Linked DNA regions of Homo sapiens: region 1 is linked to region 2. Evidence: promoter capture Hi-C in 16 types of primary human blood cells and fetal thymus (Javierre and others, 2016). All regions are on one chromosome and are shown on one strand. The core of a region is centred on a gene start or on the middle of the fragment in contact, and the rest is flanking DNA. Distances in the headings are between cores, read along the strand shown. Region 1 has its middle 4.1 kb from the start of S100A9. Region 2 holds the start of RAB13 (RAB13, member RAS oncogene family).

Evidence for each region. Contacts are between HindIII fragments. The CHiCAGO score rates a contact against its expected background, and 5 or more counts as called.
Region 1: a fragment that was not itself captured here is called in contact with the fragment with the promoter of RAB13 in region 2 in 1 of 17 cell types (erythroblasts); the score reaches 5.9 in erythroblasts.

The regions. Positions count from the first base shown.
Region 1 is chr1:153,350,588-153,356,889 of GRCh38, forward strand. No RefSeq gene overlaps it. Among named protein-coding and RNA genes, the nearest start is that of S100A9, 4.1 kb to the right of the region's middle. RefSeq lists silencers at 2,089-2,138, 3,164-3,213. The HindIII fragment of the contact is 417 bases long and covers 2,303-2,719 here.
Region 2 is chr1:153,981,731-153,988,171 of GRCh38, forward strand. RAB13 (RAB13, member RAS oncogene family) reads right to left here and starts at 4,609. Exons shown (of 8, transcript NM_002870.5): 1 at 4,383-4,609; 2 at 2,991-3,051; 3 at 1,791-1,851; 4 at 1,489-1,566; 5 at 989-1,078; 6 at 805-870; 7 at 661-714; 8 at 1-446. The coding sequence starts at 4,506. The coding sequence ends at 369. RefSeq lists enhancers at 3,668-3,897, 4,211-4,712 and a silencer at 4,524-4,693. The HindIII fragment of the contact is 17,219 bases long and covers 2,586-6,441 here.

The DNA of each region.
Region 1 (6,302 bases), core at 1,261-3,760, 630 kb before region 2:
GAGGGAGAGAGAGAGAGGGAGAGAGAGAGAAAGAAAGAAAGAAAGGAAAGAAAGAAAGAAAAAAGAAAGAAAGAAAGAGAGAAAGAAAGAAAGAAAGAAAGAAAGAAAAAAGAAAGAAAGAAAGAGAGAAAGAAAGAAAGACTTAAACAGGACACTCTTTTAAAAGGTGTCAAAAGAAGAAATGGAAAGGAAAAGCAAGCCAGCACACCGACCTGCCTCAAATAATGCATACCTTCAAGTACCTAAGGCAGTGGTTCTCAAAAAGTGGCCCAGGGGAAACTGGGGGACCCCAAGACCCCTTGGGGGGGTCCATGAGATCAAAACTAATTCCAGAACAATATTCTCTGAACTTCCCACCACAGGAAACTGCCCACAAACCAAGACTCCCGGCTCCTCACTTTCCTCACTGTGCTGATATTTGCACTGATGACACAAAAACAATGGTAGAAAAAACCGTTAGAGACATGAACCTATGTGTGGCGTCAGACTGCACTAGCAGTCATTGTATTCTTCACAATGTATTCTTTCAAGAAAAGGAGGCTCACTTAGGAATGTTTTTGATGAAGCAGTGAAAATTACTCATTTTATTAAATCTCAACCCTGATTCTCTCAAGGAAAAGCATTTGTGTGCTACAGTTGTGAGCTGAACCAGCCACTTTTCATGGACGCCGTGAACAAATAACATAGAACAAATGATAGCCAAACTATGGATACTCATATTTGGGTATGCGGCATACATTTTCTTGAAAATTAACAAAGTGAGCCTTTCACTTCCGGGAAAACAACTACAATTTGTTAGCATAATAAAATTGGAGCTTTCAGTCAAAAATTTGAATTTTGGAAAATTTGTGTCTGCCACCATGAGTTTGACAGCTTCCCAATATTTGAAGACTACTGACAGGATCAGTGGTGATATTAACAAATGTGGTGGGGCTTTTTTGCTTTTTTTGTTTTGTTTTGTTTTGTTTGTTTTTGAGACGGAATCTATCTCTGTCGCCCAGGCTGGAATTCAGTGGCATGATCTCTGCTCGCTGCAACCTCTGCCTCCCGGGTTCAAGTGATTCTCCTGCCTCAGTGTCCCAAGTAGCTGAGACTACAGGCATGTGCTACCACACATGGCTAATTTTTTGTATTTTTAGTAGAGATGGTGTTTCATAGTGTTAGCCAGGATGGTCTCGATCTCCTGACCTCATGATCTGCCCGCCTCAGCCTCCCAAAGTGCTGGGATTACAGGCGTGAGCCACCACGCCCGGCCAAATGTGGTTTATTTATATGTGTGTGTGATATATATAAATATGTATATATAGAGAGTAATAAATGATGTCAGCATTTAGAAGACGTACATAACTCAGTCAACCAATATTTTCCAAATGATCAATATATGAAGTCACAAAGTTTGGATAAAAGATCCATTAAATTTTAAGAGGGACCAATTGATTCTAATGTAACAGAGAACAAATAATTCATTGATATGGTTTCAGACTTTACGTTGCAACTAACCTTTGAGAAACCATCACTTGTTGGGTTTTGATGTAATATGAGAGAAGAATATCCACAATTATATATTTAAAGGCTATTAATGTATTCATCCCCTTTGCAACTACTTATCTGTGGGAGATTGGATTTTCTTCAAATCTTCAACCAAAGCAACATACAGCAATACCTTGTATGCAGAAGTAGATGTGATAAACCAGCTGTCTTCTTTGAAGCCATACAGTAAAAAGGTCTGCAAAAATGTGAAAAAAAAACACTCTTCTCACTAGCTTTTGACATATATATATAATTATTTTTAATTGTTTAAAAACGTGGTAATACGTAATGTGTTTATTAATGGTACTTTAAGTGAGTTAATAAATCATTTTAAATTTTTTAAACTTTTAATGTAGTAAATACTGATACATCTAATCCACAAAAGCTCTTTGGGATACTCAATAACTTCTATGAATACATATAAAAGGGTCCAGAGAGCAAAAAGATTAAAAACCTGGGGCCAAAGGAATCCCACAGGCTGTCCTGATGCAGATAGGCCACAAGGTGGCAGCATGCGCCCTCTGATAACTCCGGAGTCACCTTTCACTCACTAGGAGTCTCTGAGCAACCTCTTTTATCCATCACTCCCTTCCACTTCCTTCCTTACCTTCATGCTTCTGTGTGGCACGTCTTTTTTTTTTCTAACTAGCTTTATCCACCAACGCCTTCATAATTACAGGGCATAGCCATCTCCTAAGCATAAGTTCTGGCCAAACCAAGCCAGTCATTCATTTTATTCTGCAAACATTTGTCAGGTGTCACTCATATGCAAAGCTTATCATCCAGGGATGAGTACATTGAGAACACTGCTCTCAAGTAGTTAATAATATAATGAGGGAGACAGATCCAAACGCCAGTGATTATAATGCCTGCTGAGTGTGAAAACCCTTTATTCTTTACAAAGGGCTGTGGACTTCAAAGGGAGTCCTGAGAGCAGAGGATGCCAAAAGCCAGATGCTGAGATACTCGCCAAAAATTTCTGCAGAGATCTGGAACCTAGGGACATAGTGAGCGCAAAAGCCAGGTTCCCAAGAGATCGGGGAGGAGAAAGGGTTGGAGCAACAGAAGCCAGGCAACAAAAGGGAATGCCAGCTTTCTCAATTTTGAAGGTGGCATGTCTGAGAAATTAGGAGGATGATGAGCAGAGGCAGCCAAGGTGGAGACAGGGGGAGAGGTCCAGACTTGGGGAAGCTTAGGTTGAATGTCTAAGAAGCCAGATCATTGGAGGGTCCTCACTGTGGATGCTGGAGCAGCCCAGCATGGGGGCAGGGAGTGCGGCTGCTCTCAGCAGAGGGCCTCAGAGACCTCAGGATGGCCAGTCAAGGGAGGCCACAAGGATGCCAGGGGTGGTCAAAGCTTGATGTGGACTGAGCCCAAACGTGGTAGAACAATGGTCTGAAGCTACCCGTGGATAGCTTCTGTAAGTCATCCTAATGCACTAGAGTCTAGAATGAGCACTGGGGAAATGGGGGATGTTAGGGCGCTTGTGGTTAGGAGACCCGTACCCAGAGATCTCCAAGGAAGAGCACTTGGGACTCCCAGCAAGGAGGAAGACAGGGAGTGGAGGAATAGGCAGCAGGCTGTGCGCAGCCTGAGTGGGGCTGGGCCTCAGGCATCAGAGTCCCTGTGAGGAGAGGGACCTGACTTCACCTGCAGGTGGAGCAAGTAAGCCAGGAGACAGTGTCCAGGGGCCATGAGGCTAGTAGTAGTCATGAAGCCCACCAAGAGTCCATCAAAACTTGGAATCTGTGCTAGAAATGACCTAAGGGTCAGCTGTCCCAATCTCCTCATGTAATGGATAAGAAAATGGAGGCCCGAACATGGAAATCACTTCTAAAGACCACCAGCAAGTCTGAGAAAGCTAAGGACTAAAACCAGCTCAGTCCCTCAGTCCGGGTCCCACTGTGTGCCTGCTGTAACACCCCCATTACAACACAGGAGGGGTAAAGCTCCCTGAAAGACCACAGTGGGAGCTGCAGAGAAGGGAAAGACAGACCCGCAGTGGGTCCCAGGCATCTGGGAAAGAGCACAGTGATTTGATGGTAGCTGCAGGAACCTCTGCCTGCTTGTTTGTTTACTTGCTTGGTTGTTTGTTTGTTTGAAATGGAGTCTCACCCTGCCACCCAGGCCAGAGTGCAATGGCGCGATCTTGGCTCACTGCAACCTCTGCCTCCCAGGTTCAAGCGGTTCTCCTACCTCAGCCTCCTGAGTAGCTGGGATTACAGGTGCGCACCACCACACCCGGCTAATTTTTTGTATCTTTAGTAAAGATGGAGGTTTCACCATGTTGGCCATGCTAGTCTCGAACTCCTGACCTTGTGATCCACCCGCCTCGTGCTCCCAAAGTGCTGGGATTACAGGCGTGAGCCACCGTGCCCGGCCACTTATTTGTTTTTTAACCCAAAAAGCCACACCCTTTTCTCCCAGTGAAAACCTCGAGTCATTGTACAGAGCCAGGAAAATTGGCCCACCCACTTCATGCCCTAGCAGAAGGCTCCGACTTTCCCTGGAAAATCAGTACCCAGAGGGGAAGACCCCCATCCCACCATCCCTCAGTCCAACCTCTGGCCTCGGCTGGCAGTGAGGAGGCAGGTGGGTGTCGGCCACCTACTGATCATGCCAGGAATTGTCTGCTCCGGTCAGAACCAGAATGGCTCAGCCCTGGCCTCACCTGCGCCTGGGCTAGCCTGGAACCTGGGGGCCTGCAGTGGCCTTCTAAGATGGGGGCCCACTGTCAGCATCAGATCCCCCAAGTGCAGATTCCCGTCTGTTTTGAAACCCTGACCAGCTGCTCATTCCCACCCACTGCTGAGCCTTCTCTCCCCCAACTCCCTATTTTACTTTCATTCTGAATCAGCACTAAATGACCACAGTCAGTGGCTCTGCAGAAAGTCACAGAACAGAGGGTGACAGGCCAGTGTTTATGTCACATTCACTCATTTCATCATTGATTCATGCACTCCTGAATTTATTCAATCAACAAGCGTTCATCCAGTGCCTCTGAGCCAGCCCTTGCCTGGTGCTAAGACTTTGGAGGGTAGCAGGCAGCATCCCTGCCTAGAGGAGCCACAGTGGTGTGGAGGAATCAGAAAGTCCACCTGAAAGTTGAGAGCTCCATGACAAAGCAGAGATGCCTGCCGCACACCATCACTCAGGGTTTGAGTCACACACACCCTGCTTCATTGTCATGCTTTTTTTGTTTTTATTTTAAATTAATGGACAAATTGTATTAAACAGGAATTTTCATATAAAGCTTCAGATGTCCTGGGCCCTCAGGAGGTCCAAGAACATCTGGTCTACTTTCCCACGTGGCAGCCCTGGCCTGACACTGGCTGTCCCTTCAAGGTAGGAACGTTCTCATTCCCCACAGTTGCCACCACTGTCCAGTGTCCCCAACCCTGAGGCCCCATATCAGTGGCCACAAGTTGCCCTACTGCTGCCGTTGATGTTCTCATGCCCCACCAGCTTCACCTTGGGTCTGGTTCCCGCAAGGGTGAGTTGGAGATCCTTGGTCCTGAGTGAGAAGTGCTTTGTCAGAGGCAGCAGAGGGCGCCATGGGAGCACACAGGAAGGGCGCCTGGGGCTGTGCAGGGACTGCAGAACAGGCTGCACTGGCACACAGGGTTGGCTGCTGGCTGCTGGCTGCTGGCTGCTGGCTGGGTTTCCTCTATTAGCTTAAACAATGGAAGGTGGACTTGGATAGGAAATCTACCTCATGTATTCCTGAGCTGTGTCTGCACCGTTCATTCATTCGTAGGCGACTCATGTATTCAAGCACTCATTTATTTATTAGATGCTTGCTGTGTGCTTAGCACTGTGCCAAGCCCTGTCCTTAGCTACCAAGAGTTTAAAACGTAATTTGGAAGACAGGATATAAGATTATGTCTCCCCTTTGTATTGCGACTCACTCATCAAGTTCTCCCAGCATCTAGCATTCATATCTGGCACTCAGTAGGTGCTCAACAAATATTTGTTGCATAAATGAATGAAAAGATTATTAGTAATAATACCTTTTATTTACTGAGCTCTTCCCAACTTTCCATGTATTGTCGCAATCCTCAAGGTAAGTCCTGATATTATCCTATTTTATTGATAAGAAAAGTAAGGCACAGAGAAGTTAAGTAAACTGCCTAAGGTCACACAGACAGTCTGAAGTCTTAACCACTACTCCAGGTGCATCTCAGCAGTGTGAGGCAGGCCATGCTTAGGGCCAATGCTTAGCACACACAGAGATTGCCTCAGGCTTTCAGAGGACAAAGCAGTCAGGAGGGGCTGGGGCAATAAAGGAAGGCTTCATGGAGACAGAACAAAATAACCAGTGCAGGTAGAAGAAGAGAACCATCTTTCCTGATAGAGAGAGGGGGCAGCAAGCAAGAGGGAGTCCCAGGGTGGATCATCCATACTGGCTTCCAGGGGTGACGGGAAAGGATGCCAGCAAGGACTTCAGCAAGGATCAATCAGCAAATCCGAGGGTGTCTCTCTTGCCAAGCCCCGGGCTGTGTGCATAGGAGAAGGAGAACATGAATGAGAACCTACCTTTGAGGATCTACAGCCAATTGTTGGACAGAGGCAAAATATGTATATAATTTTACTCCAGGAAAGCAAGTGTTGAGAGCCAGAAGTGGTATGAGAATCATAGTCAGGAAGACAGAAACTGTTTCCAAATGGGAAGCACAGAGCAGTCTCCTTGGAAGAGAGTGCATTAGAACTGAGCCGTGGGGGCGGGCAGGATATCACTGTGGAGTAGGGGAAGGGCACTCCTGGGGTGGCAA
Region 2 (6,441 bases), core at 3,359-5,858:
GAGCTAGCCTTTTGCAGGACCCTAAAACCTGATCTAGTAACAGAATAAATCAGTGTATTTACATTTATGTTTGCCCTGAAAACCCAGGTAAGGTCTGAAGCCTGAGGCATCTCTCCTTCCTTTCCTCCTCCCTCTCTTCCTACCTCCTTGCCTTCTTTCACTTCCTCAATTCATTCCTCTCCCTTCTCCCTTCCTCTCTCTTCCTTTTTTTCCTTTCTGCTTTTCCCTTTTCTCCTTTTTCTCCTCATTCTCTTTACCATCTACCTATGTGACCCTCCAAGCCCCTCTGCTATTTCTCCCCTGCTCACTCCCTCTGCCGTTGTCTCCCTCAGGTTCAGCTTCCGGGGTGGGGAGGCAAGAAAGGGTCCTCAGCCCAGGGAGCACTTGTTGGTGTTCTTCTTGTCACAAGTTTTCAGGTCAGTACTGGGAGGCTTGTTGCCGTTTCCCTAGAGGGAGAAGGGCACAGGTGTCATGGTGTGAATGGATGGTTAGGGTAGGAGGGTATAAACTGTTTAAAGTAAATCCACCCTCATGAGAAATCTTAGCATTGCTCCCCGTTTTTATCAACACCAACACACACACACACACACACACACACACACACATACATACACACACACACACCCCAGAGTTGTACCTAGTCCAGCAAAACCAACTTACTGATCTCCGGCCTCCTGACTTGAGCAAGATGTCCCGGGCCAGGGAACTAAAAGCCTAAAGTGGGGAACAGAGTCAGTTTGGAGGGAGGAGAATCTACCTTCTAATACTTCCTCTCTTGGTCGGGGATGGGGGTGTGGATCTCACCTCATCCACATTCATACTGGATTTAGCACTAGTTTCGAAAAATCGGATTCCATGCTCTCGAGCCAACTATAAGGGGTGAAGTGGGAAGAGAATTGAATTAAGGACAGCAGCCAAGTCCTCTGCAATGCAACCTATCTTGGCCCTCCCAGCCCAGTTCTAGAACATTGCTCAGCCTGGCCCTCACCTTATCGGCCTGCTCCTTCTGCACCTTCCTCTTGGCCTCCATGTCACATTTGTTCCCCAGCAAGAGGCGCTCCACCCCAGCCGAGGCATTCTGGGGGCAAAAGACAAGTAAAAGTTAGGTCCTGCCGGCTGGGAGCGGTGGCTCACGCCTGTAATCCCAGCACTTTGGGAGGCCAAGGCGGGTGGATCACCTGATGCAGGAGTTCAAGATCAGCCTGACCAACATGGAGAAAACCCGTCTCTACTAAAAATGCAAAATTAGCCGAGCATGGTGGTGCATGCCTGTAATCCCAGCTACTTGGGAGGCTGAGGCAGGAAAATCGTTTGAACCTGGGAGGCAGAGGTTGCAGTGAGCCGAGATCCTGCCATTGCACTCCAGCCCGGGCAACAAGAGCAAAACTTCATCTCAAAAAAAAAAAAGTTAGGTCTTGCCTATCCTGATGGACCCCTTCATTCTCCAGGTTCTAACCAGTTTCCCCATCTCTTTTGGAGGGTCCTCACCTCCTTGATGCTTTTCATCCAGTTCTGAATATTCTCGAAAGATTTCTCATCCGTGATGTCGTATACTAGGATAATGCCCTGGGAGATGACAAAATTCACCTTGGACCATGTTCCCATTGAGGCTTCCCACTGCCCTGTAAGTGACCCCGCATCCATGGGTCTAAACACTAGGCCATGTTGGGCCCTCTGCAACCCACACTGCACCCCTCCCATTTTTACCTGCCCCAACCCCTGACCCTTTGTATTCATAATATATTCTGTAGCCTCATCCTTCATCCTTTGTTCAGACCCACACTTCATACCATGGCTCCACGGTAGTAGGCAGTAGTTATTGTCTTGAACCGCTCTTGGCCAGCCGTGTCCCTAAAGAAGGAGAAGTTTTCATGGGATGGAATAGAGGGAAGAATTCTCCAACGGAATAATTCTTCCTCTCTCACAAGAATTTAGCTTTTGTAACATGGTGGGGCAACAGAATAAGGAAACAGTAAAGGGGAACGGGATTAAAGACAGTTGAGCTGATTTCCAGAGATGGTAGTGGCCCAAGAAACAAGATGTCTTTGCTTATTCATTGAATGTTTGCTATGTGTCAAGCACTGTGTATGTATCATTTTATCTAATCCTTACTCTTTCCTTGTAAGACATGTATTATTGTCTCTATTTTAAAAATGAGGAAACACGCCAGGTGCCGTGGCTTGCGTCTATAATCCCAACACTTTGGGAGGCTGAGGCGGGTGGATCACCTGAGGTCAGGAGTTCAAGACCAGCCTGGCCAACATGGTGAAACCTCGTCTCTACTAAAAATACAAAAATTAGCCCGGCCTAGTGGCGGGCGCCTGTAATCCCAGCTACTTGGGAGGCTGAGGTCGGAGAATCACTTGAACCCAGGAGGCGGAGGTTAAAGTGAGCCTAGATTGTGCCATTGCACTCCAGCCTGGGTGACAAGAGCAAAACTCTGTCTCAAAAAAAAAAAAAAAAAAAAAAGAGGAAACAGATTTGGATAGGCTGAATAATTAATGAAGGTCAGGCAGGAGATAACTAAAAGAACCAGATTTGCGCACCAGTCTGCTCTTATATGTCATAGCATAATGCCTCCACTAAGCTTCATACCACTTAAACACCTTCAGGGTCTATATTTGGCTCTCTGGGCTCACCATATTTTGGAGAAAACACTAGACTTAGAGTCAAGTCTTAATTCTGCCTTTGCCATTTAACTGCTCACAGCCTGTTTCCATGTTATGACTGAACAGTTGTTTGTTGTCAAATTAAGAGGATGCTCTGCAGCCAGAGGAGGCAAGAGTTACAAAAGAGTTGGAACTAGTTGGGAGAGCAGGAAGAGAGATGGAAGGACAGCTGAGTGCATCCGGAGAAATGCCAGAAGTGCTCCTTCTAGCACTTCTAGAAGGAGCAATGGGGAAAGGAAGAGAAATGAAACAAAATAGAAGGAAAAACGTGTAGGAGGTAAATGGGGAAGTCTGGCGAGGCATCCCAGAGGACTGACTTACCAGACTTGTAGTTTGATCTTCTTCCCCTCTATATCCACAGTGCGGATCTTGAAATCAATTCCTAGGGGTGGAAGGTATGCACTGAAGTTGAGACATGCATGCACACATGTAAAACTGTGTGATGGAAGGGACAGGAACGGAGCAGTGCTGGCACCAGAAATTCTGCAGGGGAGGCACTTGGGGAACAATCTTGTTGGAAATGCCAAGCTAGGAGAATTTTCCCAAAGCTGTATTTGTATAGCAAGAATACTATTTTTACGTACATTTTATGGATTTTGGGAGGGAAAAGGTGACGAAAATTCTGCATGGAGGCTTAAAATCCTTAGGCTGCCTCTTGGGTCCATTCAGTTATACCAGCTGACAACTCTCTGAATTCAGTCTCTGTCTCCCCCCAGATATTACTTTCACATTCCTCTTCTCTGTTTTCTTAGAGCCCTCTACTCTTGGTATCCCACCTACCCTCCTAGTAGAGAGTAAGGAAAAAAGTAGCTGAAGCCAGTCTATGTGAATTAACTAGTGGGCCAAACTTGGCACTAGGAAAGTCTGAGGCTAAACAGGATTACTTTTGAGACAATTAGGAAAGAGGGGCATTTTTCCTTTTCCTTTGTAACCAGAATTGTCGTGAGACTCTTCCTGTCTATTTCCCAAGCCAGAGGAGATGAAGAAAGAAGAGAAGGGAGGAGGGGAGACAATGTTCTTCTTAGTAGAAACTTGGGCACCTCCCCCAAGCCTGCTGGGGGCCCCTGGGAGGAGGATGAGTCACCAGGCTGACTCAGAGACCCCAAAAGTCCCCTCATTTCCACGTTCCTCACCAAGCTGGCTGCATATTCATGATCACAGTCCTTGGGCCACCCTCCAGCACACCCAGCCACCTTGTTCCACCCTTCCCAAACCCTTGTTCAGCTGAGGTGCAGGGAGACTGGGGCAGGGAACCTGGGAAGTAGATGGTGAGGTGGGGACACAGTGGGAGAGTTTGAAGCTCAGCAAGACAGAAAGAGGCTAGCATCGGATCGGGAGAAAAAGATGTGGCGGACAGGGATACAGGAAACATGGAGATAGGATCGAGAGAGTTCTAGGTGGTGGGGGTAGGGGAAGAGGGGAACAGAGAAAAATAGAGAAGAGTTCTTGTGGATTTGGGGAGACTAAGGCGATGGTACCAAGAAAATGAGGAGCTGGCAGCAGTTGAAGAGTTACCTGAAGGCCTCAGAGAGGTGAGAGGTTTGGTTACTATACAGAGACATGCACGGGGGAAGGGTCAGAGCCAGGGGTTGAGGGACTAGAATTTAGGAGCCTTACTCTAAGGGGACTGAAAAGTGGGGTCACTAGTAATCCGGGAGCCGGAGAAGGAGGTCACAGGAGAGTCGGGGTCTGGGACATGGCCAGCGGGCTCACCGATGGTGGAGATGTAAGTGTTGTTGAAGTTGTCCTCTGCAAAGCGAATGATCAGACAAGTCTTGCCCACCCCCGAGTCCCCGATCAGCAGCAACTTGAAGAGGTGGTCGTAGGCTTTGGCCATGGCGGACACCGGGGGAGCCGGGGGAGGGGTGGGGAGCGCCCGGCACTGGTAGGCGGGACTGGACGGTTGGCAAACAGAGCGGCACGGAGCCCAGGCCAGGAAGAAGTTTTCCTCCCTCTCCGCCCAGGCTCCGGGAAAGAGGAGAGGCGGCACCCCTCCGGGCTCCACCCCCTGCCCGCCCACCCTTTTGAGCAGGCCAAGGCTGCCAGCCCGGCCTCTGTTCTCTCGGTTTTCCCTTCCTAGCTTAGGCCGGCCTGTCTCTCTCGCTATTTTCCACAGCCTTTCGGTAATTGTAGCTCCCCTCTTAGGACCTTACTCTTCCATTCTGAGGCCAGAGAGGCTGGGGTGAAGGGAAGTAGAGGTTTAACCACGACGACCAGAAATTTTAGAAGAGAAATTTTAGAGGGATTAGGGGAAGAGAACCAAGAGTTTTGGGAATAAGGGTGAAGGTAGGGAGAGCACTAGAAATTGAAAAAAAAAAATGGGGCTGAGTTTTGGAGATGCTATTCAACGAAGCTAGAAGATGAGTTATCATCGGTTTCTGGGGCTGAGTAAAAGGCAGTCCTAGAATTTTACTGTTAGTTGTCCAAGCCCTTAGTTCTATGGGTCCCAATTCACTTTGAAAAAAGCGGGATGCGCAGAAGTAGGTTATTTGTTGAGTCAGTCTGCCCCCTGGTGGAACAGGGTGAAAACGTAAATTAGTTATACAGAATCGGCCCCACCACCCCAACACACACAGCCTACCTAGACACATCCTGGGGCTTCAGTTGGAACGATCTCTCTTATGGGGACCCATGTGTGATTTCTCTGACCAAATAGCTTAGGAAAACAGAGATTTGAACTAAAAATGTCATTCTTTACGTGAATCTTTTAATATGGCCCACTTAAGGTGCAGTACTCCTGAAATCTCACTCAATAGGCCATGAATGTGTAGCCTTGGTAACCAGGAAGCTGAAATATGAACAGCACGGGTATAAAGAAACAAGTTTGCCGGGCGCGGTGGCTCACGCCTGTAATCCCAGCACTTTGGGAGGCCGAGGCGGGCGGATCACGAGGTCAGGAGATCGAGACCATCCTGGCTAACATGGTGAAACCCCATCTCTACTAAAAATACACACACACACACAAAATTAGCCGGGCGTGGTGGCAGGCGACTGTAGTCCTAGCCACTTGGGAGGCTGAGGCAGGAGAATGGCGTGAACCCGGGAGGCAGAGCTTGCAGTGAGCCGAGATTGCGCCACTGCACTCCAGCTTGGGCGACAGAGCCAGACTCCGTCTCAAAAAAAAAAAAAAAAGAAAGAAAGAAAGAGAGTAAAAGAGAAACAAGTTTATCTCTGCCTTTAGAAAAAAATTATTCTTGCTATATGTGTGCTGGGGGTGGAAAAAAATACGAAACACGAAAGAAAGAAAATATTATCTAAGACCTGTTGCGGTGGCTCACACTTGTAATCCCAGCACTTTGGGAGGCCAACGTGAGAGGATCCCTTAAGCCCAGGAGTTCAAGACCAGCTTGGGCAACATAGTGAGACTGCTTCGACAAAAAAAAAAAAAAAAAAAAAAAAAAATTAGCCATACATGGTGGTGTGGCCTGTAGTCCCAGCCGCAGCTACTTGGGGGACAGAAGTGGGCAGAACACTTGAGCCCAAGAGTCCAAGGCTGTAGTGAGCCACGATTATGATGCCACTGCTCTCCAGCCTCGGTGATAGAGTAAGATCCTGTTTCAAAAAAATTTTTTATTTATTTTTTAATTAATTAATTAATTTTTTTGAGACAGAGTCTTGCTCTGTCGCCAGGCTGGAGTGCAGTGGCGCAATCTCGGCTCACTGCAACCTCCGCCTCCCGAATTCAAGCGATTCTTGTGCCTCAGCCTCTGGAGTACCTGTAATCCTCTGGGATTACAGGTGCCCGACACCACGCCCAGCTAATTTTTGTATT